Regions from separate parts of the Homo sapiens genome. Here region 1 is linked to region 2. Evidence: promoter capture Hi-C in human tissues and cell types (Jung and others, 2019). All regions are on one chromosome and are shown on one strand. The core of a region is centred on a gene start or on the middle of the fragment in contact, and the rest is flanking DNA. Distances in the headings are between cores, read along the strand shown.

The links. Contacts are between HindIII fragments. The study calls those that stand out against the background at their distance.
Region 1: a contact is called between a fragment that was not itself captured here and the fragment with the promoter of ATP6V1F in region 2, in 1 of the 25 tissues and cell types used here (lymphoblastoid cells).

What each region holds. Positions count from the first base shown.
Region 1 is chr7:129,422,571-129,428,388 of GRCh38, forward strand. It overlaps AHCYL2 (adenosylhomocysteinase like 2), which reads left to right. Exons shown (of 17, transcript NM_015328.4): 13 at 270-368; 14 at 2,304-2,372; 15 at 2,493-2,571; 16 at 3,873-3,993; 17 at 4,469-5,818. The coding sequence ends at 4,475. Among named protein-coding and RNA genes, the nearest start is that of STRIP2, 9.0 kb to the right of the region's middle. The HindIII fragment of the contact is 3,108 bases long and covers 2,104-5,211 here.
Region 2 is chr7:128,860,451-128,865,454 of GRCh38, forward strand. ATP6V1F (ATPase H+ transporting V1 subunit F) reads left to right here and starts at 2,406. Exons shown (of 2, transcript NM_004231.4): 1 at 2,406-2,612; 2 at 4,927-5,004. The coding sequence starts at 2,455. It overlaps FLNC-AS1 (FLNC antisense RNA 1), which reads right to left and starts at 2,176. Exons shown (of 4, transcript NR_149055.1): 1 at 2,075-2,176. RefSeq lists enhancers at 2,020-2,129, 2,210-2,699. The HindIII fragment of the contact is 21,210 bases long and covers 1,110-5,004 here.

The DNA.
Region 1 (5,818 bases), core at 2,408-4,907, 560 kb after region 2:
CTTTTGTATTTCCCATAGCACCTTTTACTGTGAGAGTGGGCACACAGTATATGTTGTGGAATGACATCCTGAGTGATCCCTCCCTGGCTGGGCCTCAGATTAAATTCCCTGAAATGGAACAGTCCTAACCAACACAGGACAGGTATTCTCCATCTGGCATGTTGGTTGCTCCTTTCAACCTGCTATTTGAAATGGCTCCCTTCAACATCTTTCTGTTCCCACAGTGGGGCTTGCTATGGCTAATGCTGTACTTGCTGTATGTGTTCCAGGCGAGTCTGCGGACACCAGAACTGACCTGGGAGCGAGTGAGATCTCAAGTTGACCATGTGATATGGCCTGATGGCAAGAGGATAGTACTGCTGGCAGAGGTAAGGCTGAGACTGGCAAAAATACTCCCCCACAACAGGAGAGACTGCAATACCCAGGTCCCCTCCTCCTCATGTTCTCGAATACTTTCAACTCCTCTGTTAAGCACAAGTTTGACTACTTTCCCAATGGATTTTACTTCTAATTGTGAAAGATCTTTTCATTCAGCAATTAAGAAACTATTTTGGTTCCCCACTTTTCACCAATTATCCTGTCTCTCCACGTCAATCCACAGGTTGAGTTAGATAATTATTACTATAGAAGGAATTCACAGATAGAACCAGTGCCACTTTGAGTGATGCATACAAAGAGATAATGTCACTTGTGGGATGTTTTAATCACTAAGCACAAAGTAGATATGCCCGACTGTAACCAGGACTATCTTAGGCAAGTTCTGGGAATGTATGTTTTTACTGATAGATTCCCTGTTTTTGAAGGTCCATTCCCTTGAATTGAGCCAGATGAGTAGTAGGTACCTACCTAGATATCAATTGCTCAATTGATATTTCCCCATCCTAGCTCCTAGCTCACATTGACACTATTGACTTTCATTTTATTGGCTTCCATGTCAGTGTTTGACCACTTTTCCTTTCTTAAAAGCTCCTCTTCCCTAGTCCTGGATTCCTGACAGCTATAATATTAGATGCCTTCTATTCTTACCTTGAAGCTTTCTCTTCTTCAGAGAAAGATACCAAAATATCAAGGAGGATAATAATACTTTTCTCAATTTTGATTTTCAGTTGGTTTTTTTTCTTTTTTTATATTAAAGAACCTGAATATGAAAATGTAAAATATACATTGTCTTTATCTAGGGGCCCATAAGTTAGGAGTTTTTAGTGTCCTTACTGTTTTCTTCACATTTTCCTCACTTTATCTCATCTTCTCAGATACTTCAGGGCATTTGTAAAGGGACTGAACTATTTCTTCACAAGGAAGGAGTATATATGAGGAGGAGATGGGCAGATTGCCAAATATGCATTAATAGCTTTGATGTCAGTCTGCTGACTGATGACTTGTTTCTAGCTGCCCTAGGAGGTCCCACCTGGTAATTTTGGTGACAAAAGCAAGTACCATGGGTGTTTTTGGCTAGATGGTTGAGCAAAAAGGTGGTCAGGCTTCATAGGAAACAAAATAGGAAAGGGTGGCATTGGGGGCAATTTCTAGTTCTTCTACTGTCTGAATCACCAACTCAAAATACAAGGCTGACAATGCTGTCTTTGAATTCAGGAGAAGCAAACTGAAGGAGAAGCACAAAAATCATCACAGCTATGGTGAAACCCTGTCTCTACAAAAAAAAAAAAAAAAATACAAAAGTTAGCCGGGCATGGTGGCGCACACCTGTGATCCCAGTTACTCTGGAGGCTGAGGCAGGAGAATCACTTGAACCCAGGGGGCAGAGGTTACAGTGAGTCAAGATCATGCCATGGAACTCCAGCCTGGGCAACAGAGGGAGACTCCATCTAATCAATCAATCAATCAATCAATCAATCAATCATCACAGCTTCCTAAGTCCAAATATACCTCCCCTCACAACCTGGAGAGATTGTCCCTGGATTTGACTGATCATTGTTTATTTCAAGACAGTCTTTAAAAGAAATGCCGATCCTCAGAAGGAGGATATTTTGCTATAGAGAGTGGAAAATTCAAGAGAAGTACACTGATATTTGGCATAAGCCTCAGTGTCATATGACCATCTGTATTCCTTTTTAAATAATTCCAGAAATCTTTTAGCTATTAGTTTCATCAGATTTTCCAGAATTTTAGTGGTTTCATTTAAATGTCAGTCAGTTAGTTCTTATATATTGAATAGCTGCTTTTTTTCCAGCAGTGTTAGTCAGGAAGTGTTTGGAAAATGGTGGTCATGCTTCTCTTCCCTCACTTCTCAAAGGCCAGCGACTTTGTCCTAATCCATTTGTGTCTTCACCTTTGATCACTAGGGCCGCCTGCTGAACCTTAGCTGCTCCACAGTGCCTACATTTGTGCTCTCAATCACTGCTACTACTCAGGTAAGGCTTCCAGAGTGGGATAGCAGTAGTCTGGAGAAGGTCCTCAGACCCACCAGGTTTCACTTGCTTGGGTAGATTGCCATGAATGGCACATCAGCATCCATCTCTCTGCTTTTCTAGGCTCTTGCCTTGATAGAGCTTTACAATGCTCCTGAGGGTCGCTATAAGCAGGATGTCTACCTGTTGCCCAAGAAGATGGGTAAGTATTTACTCTTCCATCTCCATCCTTACCAAAGTAGTTCAGAGTCTGAGGTTAAAGGAAGTTTGGGGGCATTAACTTACTTAAGGATGGGGGAAAAAAGGTACCTTCATCTTGTAAAGTAGGAATTAGGATTCCTAGGTGCCATTCCCATTTATTTATCCCATTTTCTACATGTGTTGCCCTAGCGAAGTTGTGATATTATGCTGTGATTTATTTTACCTGCCTGTGAATTTTAAGGATTTTTTTTTTCTTAAAGTATCTTTATGTGGGAATCTCAAAGGAGAAAAAAAAAATCTTCCCTTAAAAGAGAAGAATCATCTCCTACCTTGTGACATCTGACTTACTCCAATTCTAGGCTGCCAAATAGCCCCTACCAAACTTTTCTCAGACGACACAAGACTTTCTTACTACACCTTCCAACACCAATCCCAGTGCTTCAGGCCAAAGGAGAGATGTGGAATAGGAGCTATTTAGTTATGTGGGTGTTTTGTATAAGAGAAACATTAACCTGTCTTAAATTTTTAAAGAGCCTGCCTCAAGCACCTGAACTGATACAGTGTGTTTATAAACTCCTCAGGCAAAGATCAGGTAATAAATAAGCTTCTGGTTTTGTTTTGCCTTAGCACTAGGTATATAACAACTGTTAAAAGTTGATACATTTTCCCTTTAGTAGACACTTTAGAAGGATATAAAAGCAACAGCACAGTCCATATTCTGACAGAATGTATAATGAAGTTGGGAGACCAAACAAATACATAGGAAATGACATAAGATTATGAATAAGTACTATGTAGTCAGATAATAGAATGTGAACAGAAACCCATAAGAATTAAGAGTACTAAAAGCAAAGCAAACAGTTCATTTATCCCATTTAGTATCCTTCTTAGTTTTTCCATTCAAGTTTCCCCAGGCATTAGTTGTTTTAAATGACCCAAAGTATGGAGTCCAAGGCAAAACTCAAGTTGGAGCTTCCCATTATTTAGTTCCCACATTATCCTATTCCTTCTTTTAAATCTTAATGCCTGTTGTTTCTTTCATCTCTCCTGCACTTTTCTGGAAGGCAGGGTTCAAAGCTGAGTTAGTAAGGATGAATTATTAAGGCTTTGGAAAGCACTGGGCTTGAAGCTGAAGGCAGCTATTCCTTAGAATTGAGGACCAGTGAGCGAAGGTTGAACATTTTTCATTCAGCTCCAGGAATTAGAAGGTGTCTTTGAACTTTTTAAGGCCTAGCTTGGGGACAATAGCCATCAGATAAAAGGCATGAATGCTTATACCAGGGCTTCTGTGGTCTGTTCCAGATGAGTATGTGGCCAGCCTACACCTGCCTACCTTTGATGCCCACTTGACAGAGCTGACAGATGAACAGGCCAAGTATCTGGGACTCAACAAGAATGGGCCCTTCAAGCCTAATTACTACAGGTGCCTTGGGCTCCCCAGAAATCAGGGACACCTGGGCAGTGATGAGCTTCCTGCACTGGAATTGGTCTTTGCATCCCCAACCACATATGCTTACATGAACTCAGAAAAATGAACCCACTTCCCCTCACTGCCACCTTCAAAAGACTCTTCAAGGCCTTAAATAGTATTCCCCTTCCTGAATTTGCCTTTTGGAGATAGAGAGGTGGAGTTTGGGTAAGTGGCTATTTGCCTCATTAAATAAAGTTCCCCTTCCTCAATTCCTTTCCCCATTTCATCTTGTTGCTATGATTTTTATCTCTTTATGGAGAAATATTGGCCTTTTTCAATGATGTGAAAAGGAAACACAGTTATTTCCTGTCACTGTACACTCCAGAAAAGTCTCTGCCTCCCTGTTACACCTTTAGGCAGGCTCTTCATGTCCCAGCATCCCCATTAGCTGATAACATCACAGTCTCATCTTTCTTTTTCCCTCCAGGTATTAAGTTCCTGTAACTCAAACCAGAATTTTTAAGGAATAGAACTCCAAGCCTTTTCTCCACTACTATACAAGAAAGAATTCAGCAAGCTGCTTCTCCAATCAAAGCTGCCTGCCGTGCTCACCCTGTGTGTTAGGTTATTTATTTATTAAAATCAAGAATCCTGTGCCTGTAGTGTTGGCCCAGAGTGTGGTTACTGCCCTGAGGGCCATGAAAGCCACAGAGGATGGGCTGAGGAAGGAAAGAAATGGGGTTACTGCTCCCAGTGCATCATTTGCATCATTCCCCATTGACTGAATCCTCAGCAGTGGCCGTTTTTCCTCTTGTCCAGGCTCACGAGTTAGTCCAGGGATTCCATACTCCCTATTCCCTGGAGTTTTCTGGAATAAATTTTCAGCACCTGCTTTTCTCAGCTTGGCCCTTCCCCGGGTGAGGCCGTTTGGAATTAACATGGCCAGTGTTTCACACAAGATTGGGTTCCCAATCTTGACCATCACTATCACTGCCTTCTTTATATAAAGGCTAATAAGGAAGGAGTGTTATTTATGGCTTTGCCAAGCTACATCAAGAACTCAGCTGTGCTGTGCCTACCAGGGGTCTCCTTTCTTACCCAGGACTCCTTTCTTCTCCTTGAATATTTATGTCCATTTTAACACTTCCTGGTTGCAAGAGGGATGTGCCTCCATTATTTCCTCCACAGTTTTGGTATTTGTCAGACATTTGTTCTGCTGTCTTTCTAATCCAGCCAACGTCTGCTCAGGAAGTGGGGCCAGCTCCACTGGGACCCATAGTTTTACTTCCTTGTCATTTGATTGGATAGTTTCCAAGGAAGCCCCTCCAGATTGGCACTATCTCAGAAAAGGAGAGCTTGTTGTGAAACACTGCTTCCTGAAACTTCCTGCTATTGCCTAAAGCTACGTCTGAAACTGAGTAGGGAAAGGCATACTTTTCCAGGGACTTAGGGGGATAGGCTTTGGAAATGGGACAGGTCTTTCAGACTCACAGCTTGATACCCTAACAAAGCAGAGTATATTTATTTGTTTCCCAGGAAGGCCATTGCAGTTTGACTGGCTGAGGGATACAGAGATGAAATTGTAAACTGTATCCAGATTATCAAAGCTAATTTGACTAGTTTGAACCTCGTCAGACATTCATTCCTTTGGCCATTGCCATGGATGAAACCGAGATCTGCAGTCTGATCTGTGGACTTCTCTGCTGGCATATCTTTTATGATTTAACCTCTTCCATTTGATGATTCTGTATTTCAGAGTCAGTTTCTTGAGTAACTCCAGTGCTACAAAAAGAATTAGTAATGTGGTGTGGGCAGCGTGACATTTTATGTCCCACCC
Region 2 (5,004 bases), core at 1,156-3,655:
CACCTCTCTCACCAGGCTCTGTGCTTCCTCCCTCTTCCCTCACACCCTCCCACACACCCATCCTCACTCTCTGCCCCCCTCACCCTCACCCTCACCCCTAGATGTGCTAATTTCCCCCTCAGCTTCGGCTGCCTCCACCTGTGTGTGGCTGATAAGCTCACAGACCTCCAGCCTGCCTGCTTCCAGCCAGCCACAGTGTGGCCCTGGGTGCTGAGCCTTACAGGCCCTTCCTCATTAATCCTCATAACAGCCCTATGAGGTGGGGCTACTACCATCTGAAGAAACCAAGGCCCTGGGAATTTCAGTGATGAGTCTGAAACCGTACCTTTAAGTAGTGGGGCACAGATTGAAACCCAGGTGTGCCCGAATCCCAAGCTTATCACACATACAATCGCTAGACCAGACCACGGGCACGTCTCAAGCACTCCAAACTCACAAACCCCATGCCAGACACCGGGAGTGCTGATTTGTTAAAAGGGAGGAGGAAAGAGTGGCTCCTTCCCCTTCAGCCTGCTCATCTTACAGAGGTCACTTTCTTGGCAATGTTACTCCCATCCATGTGCTGCACAGGCCAGAAACCTGGAAATCACCCAGGTCTCTCTCTCTACCTCACTCCCCAAACACATCCACTCTGAAACCAGTTTTGTCCTAAATATCTAAATATCTCTCGGCTCTACCTACTTCTCTGCGTTTCCCATTATCACCACCTGAGTCCTGGCCACCATTATCTCTCACAGTGGCCTCCCAATTTGGTTTCTCCTCCCTCAGTTTCGCCTCTGCACACAGCACAGTCAACAGTGAGTGACAGCTCTAAAACGTAAGTTTGGCGATAGCACTCTCTTACTTGAAATCCCTCAGCAGCTTCAGGATAACTGTCCTCAGGATAACTTCCAGATCTTTTTTTTTTTTTTTTTTTTTTTTTAGACAGAGTCTCACTCTGTCACCTAGGCTGGAGTGCAGTGGCGCCATCTCAGCTCACTGCAACCTCCCTTGCCCGGGTTCAAGCAATTGTCCTGCCTCAGCCTCCCGAGTAGCTGGGACTACAGGCACACACCACCTCACTGGGCTAATTTTTTTTGTATTTTTAGTGGAGATGGGATTTCACCATGTTGGCCAGACTGGTCTCAAACTCCTGACTTCAGGTGATCTACCCGCCTCAGCCTCCCAAAGTGCTGGGATTACAGGCGTGAGCCACCGCGCCCAGCCTGCAGATCCTTTTTTTTTTTTTTTAGACAGGGTCTCGCTCTGCTGCTCAGGTTTAAGTGCAGTGCCGTGATCATAGCTCACTGTAACCTTGAACTCCTGAGTAAGCCCTGCTGCCTCAGCTTCTCGAGTACCTGGAACTATAAGTGTGCACCACCACGCCTGGCTAATTTTTTTTTTTTTTTTTTTTTTTTTTTTTTGAGACAGAGTCTCGCTCTGTCACCCAGGCTGGAGTGCAATGGCACAATCTCGGCTCACTGCAACCTCCGCTTCCCGGGTTGAAGCAATTCTCCTGCCTCAGCCTCTCGAGTAGCTGGGACTACAGGCGCCCACAACCACGCCCGGCTAATTTTTTGTGTTTTTAGTAGAGACGGGTTTTCGCCATGTTGGCCAGGCTGGTCTCAAACTCCTGACCTCAGGTGATCCACCTGCCTCAGCCTCCCAAAGTGCTGGGATTACAGGTGTGGCGTGAGCCACCATGCCTGGCCTTACCAATTATTTAACTTTCCTTGAAGGCCCTACGCTCTCTAGTCAGTACGCCTTTGCACATGCTGTTCCTCTGCCTAGAACACCGTCTTGTCCTCACTTCTATCCCCTTCATCCTGCAGGTCCTTCAGGTCTCAGCTTAGATCTGAAGCAAGCTTCTTGGGGAAGGGTTCTTTGGACGCCCCCTCTCTCCATGGGTTAGTTACCATGGATGTGTGCTTCCATATACTTTTCACATTCTAACCATTAACACACAGCTTTGTAGTCGCCTGTTCCCTTGACTTTCCACCTCACTAGGCAGTATCATCATTAACTTTTGCATTCCTTTAACTGAACAAACGTGTGTTACTTGTTAACTATGTGTCATAGTTACACACATACATACACGATAAAGACCCAGACCCTGCCCTTGAGATGAGTAACTGCGTCTCTTCTCTGGGGTCTCGGCGTCTAACAGCGTCAGGTCCAAAGCGCTTGTTGAACGAATGAACCAAGGAACGAGTGAATGAACGAATGAATGCCCGCGAAGGACGTGGTGCCGCGCGGTCTTCTGGGAATCGTAGTCCCCTGGTTCGGGCCTGTCTTTACGGCGCAGGCGTATTCACATGGAGGCCGTGTTGCTGTTAATGCGCATGTCCCGGAATGCGGCTGGGAGGACTGCGCATGCTCGAAGGGTGGGGGTTGAGGCCGACGGGGCGCCGTACGGCGGAGGCGGGGTTTCAGTGGCTTCTGGTGCTCTAGGGTGAGCTCTGCCCGGCTGCAGGGATGGCGGGGAGGGGTAAGCTCATCGCAGTGATCGGAGACGAGGACACGGTGACTGGTTTCCTGCTGGGCGGCATAGGGGAGCTTAACAAGAACCGCCATCCCAATTTCCTGGTGGTGGAGAAGGATACAACCATCAATGAGATCGAAGACACTTTCCGGTACGGTACCGCGCGAGGCCTGAACGGGCCCTTCTGCTGCTCGGTGGAGTGCGGGGCGAGGCTGGAGGCTGCCCGGACGGGGGTGAGGGGACGATCCTGAAAGTCCTTCCGCCCTTCCGGAGCGGAGGCCTCCGCGCCCCAAGTCCCCGTTTGGGGCTCGGTGGGACAGAAGCTGTATCAGGTCCACGAGCCCCCCCACCTCACATGATCGTGTGTCATGAAAGAAGGGGAACAGAGCTCGTGACAGCCTAGACAGTGGGCTTGGACTTTGTTCTGCTTTCTCCTCCTTTAGAGGCTCACCATCGTCCCGTAAGGCAGGGATGATTTTTGTCCTACTCACAGGTGAGAAAACTAAAGCTCGGAGAGGGTAAGGCACACACTAAAGTTACGAGTCGGCAGAGGCAGAGCTAGAATTTGAACCCAATCTCAACCCTTTCTGCCTCCGGTAAGCCAGGTACACACTCTTGGCAGGTCTCCTCAGGCGGCCTCGGAATTTCCTTGTAGTCTTGAGCACAGTAGGCAGAAATGTCGGGACTGTGAGAGCCTTCTGCTAAGACCTTGCACTCAAGCCCTCACTGCCTGCCTTAGGTCAGAGTGTGGGTGCAGGCATGCTTTTAATCCACCAGGGGTCCTGGTGACTGGAATTAAGGATACCAGCCTCCTATTTTATTCCTCACCCCTTCTCCAGGGCCCCTGTACCAAGTCTCAGGAATAAACCACTCACCTGTTTCCCCCAAACAGTCCAGCCCAGGGCTGCTGGCTGAGACTGGTTCCTGCTGCCTGGTGTATTAGGTAGTCCCTGACCTGGGAGGCTGTTATCTGCCATTCTCTAAGCTGTCTGGTAAAGTGACCCAAGTTATCATGGGAGAAGGACAAATTTTACTTCAAGAATTTTTTATGTTTCCAACCAAAAGGGACCTCAGAGATCAAATCTAACCCAGTGACTGGCAGGGGGTGGGTGCTCAGTAAGTAATTTTTAATCAGTAAATAAACGAATGAGTCTGGGTGCAGTGGCTCACGCCTGTAATCCCAACAGTTTTGGAGGCCGAGGCGGGTGGATCACCTGAGCTCGGGAGTTTGAGACTAGCCTGACCAATATGGTGAAACCCCATTTCTACTAAAAATACAAAAATTAGCCAGGCGTGGTGGCGGGTGCCTGTAATCCCAAGAAATCAGGAGGCTGAGGAAGGAGAATTGTTTGAACCTGGGAGGTGGAGACTGCAGTGAGCCGAGATCCACCACTGCACTCCAGCCTGGGTGACAGAGGGAGACCCTGTCTCAAAAAAATAAAAATAAAATAAACAAATGAATGGGTGGGTGACCACAGGAGAGAAGGAGCACAAGGCCAGGTTCTTTTTGTGCAGAAAGTGTGATTCCTTCATCAAGGTGTCCTCTTCCTAGCTTGTGATCTTAGTTCATGCCAAACTTTCCCTCTGACCCCTCCACCACCCTCATCAGGATAGACCTTGAGGCCTTCAGTGGTCTCATCAGCCCTATTTTTAAATAATTTGTTTTCTTTTTAAAAGTTAATGTGTCTTTTTTTTTTTTTTTTTCTGAGACAGGGTCTCACTCCTGTCACCCAGGCTGGATTGCAGTGGCGTGATCGCAGCTCACTGCGGCCTCGACTTCCCAGGCTCAAGTGATTCTCCCACCTCAGCTTCCTAAATAGCTAGGACTACAGCTTCCCAAGTAGCTGGCACATGCCGCCACATCCAGCCATTTTTTTTTTGTGTGTATATATATAGATAGATAGATAGATCCGCCACATCCAGCCATTTTTTTGTGTGTGTATATATAGATAGAGAGAGAGAGAGAGAGAGAGGGAGATGGGGGTCTCACTATGTGGCCCATTCTGGTCTCAAACTCCTGGGTTCAAGCAATCCACCTGCCTCGGCCTCCCAAAGTGCTGGGATTACAGGCGTGAGCCATCACAGCTGGCCTTCAGTATCTGCACATAAAAAGGGATCTGCATACATATAATCTTATCCTTCCCCTTTCTGACACATCACTGCATATTGAATACACCAGTGTGCACCCTAATCAATCTTCATTACCAGTTCACTTGGAAGCCTTCCGGGCAGTGTTGTAGAAGCCAACCCTAATCAGCGTGACCCTCCGCTTTGGGATGAAATTGATTCTAGGTAGGGTTGACAGAGGGTTGAGCGTGGCAGCCTTTCCCCTTGTCCTCTGTGCCCTCTGGGTCATGCTCATTCCCCTCCACAGCCCAGCCCAACAACTCGGAGAGGGCTGCCTGGGTAGGAGAGACGGCAGCCCCCAGAGCTGTCCTGGACTCCCTTCTCATCTCTCCCCACAGGCAATTTCTAAACCGGGATGACATTGGCATCATCCTCATCAACCAGTACATCGCAGAGATGGTGCGGCATGCCCTGGA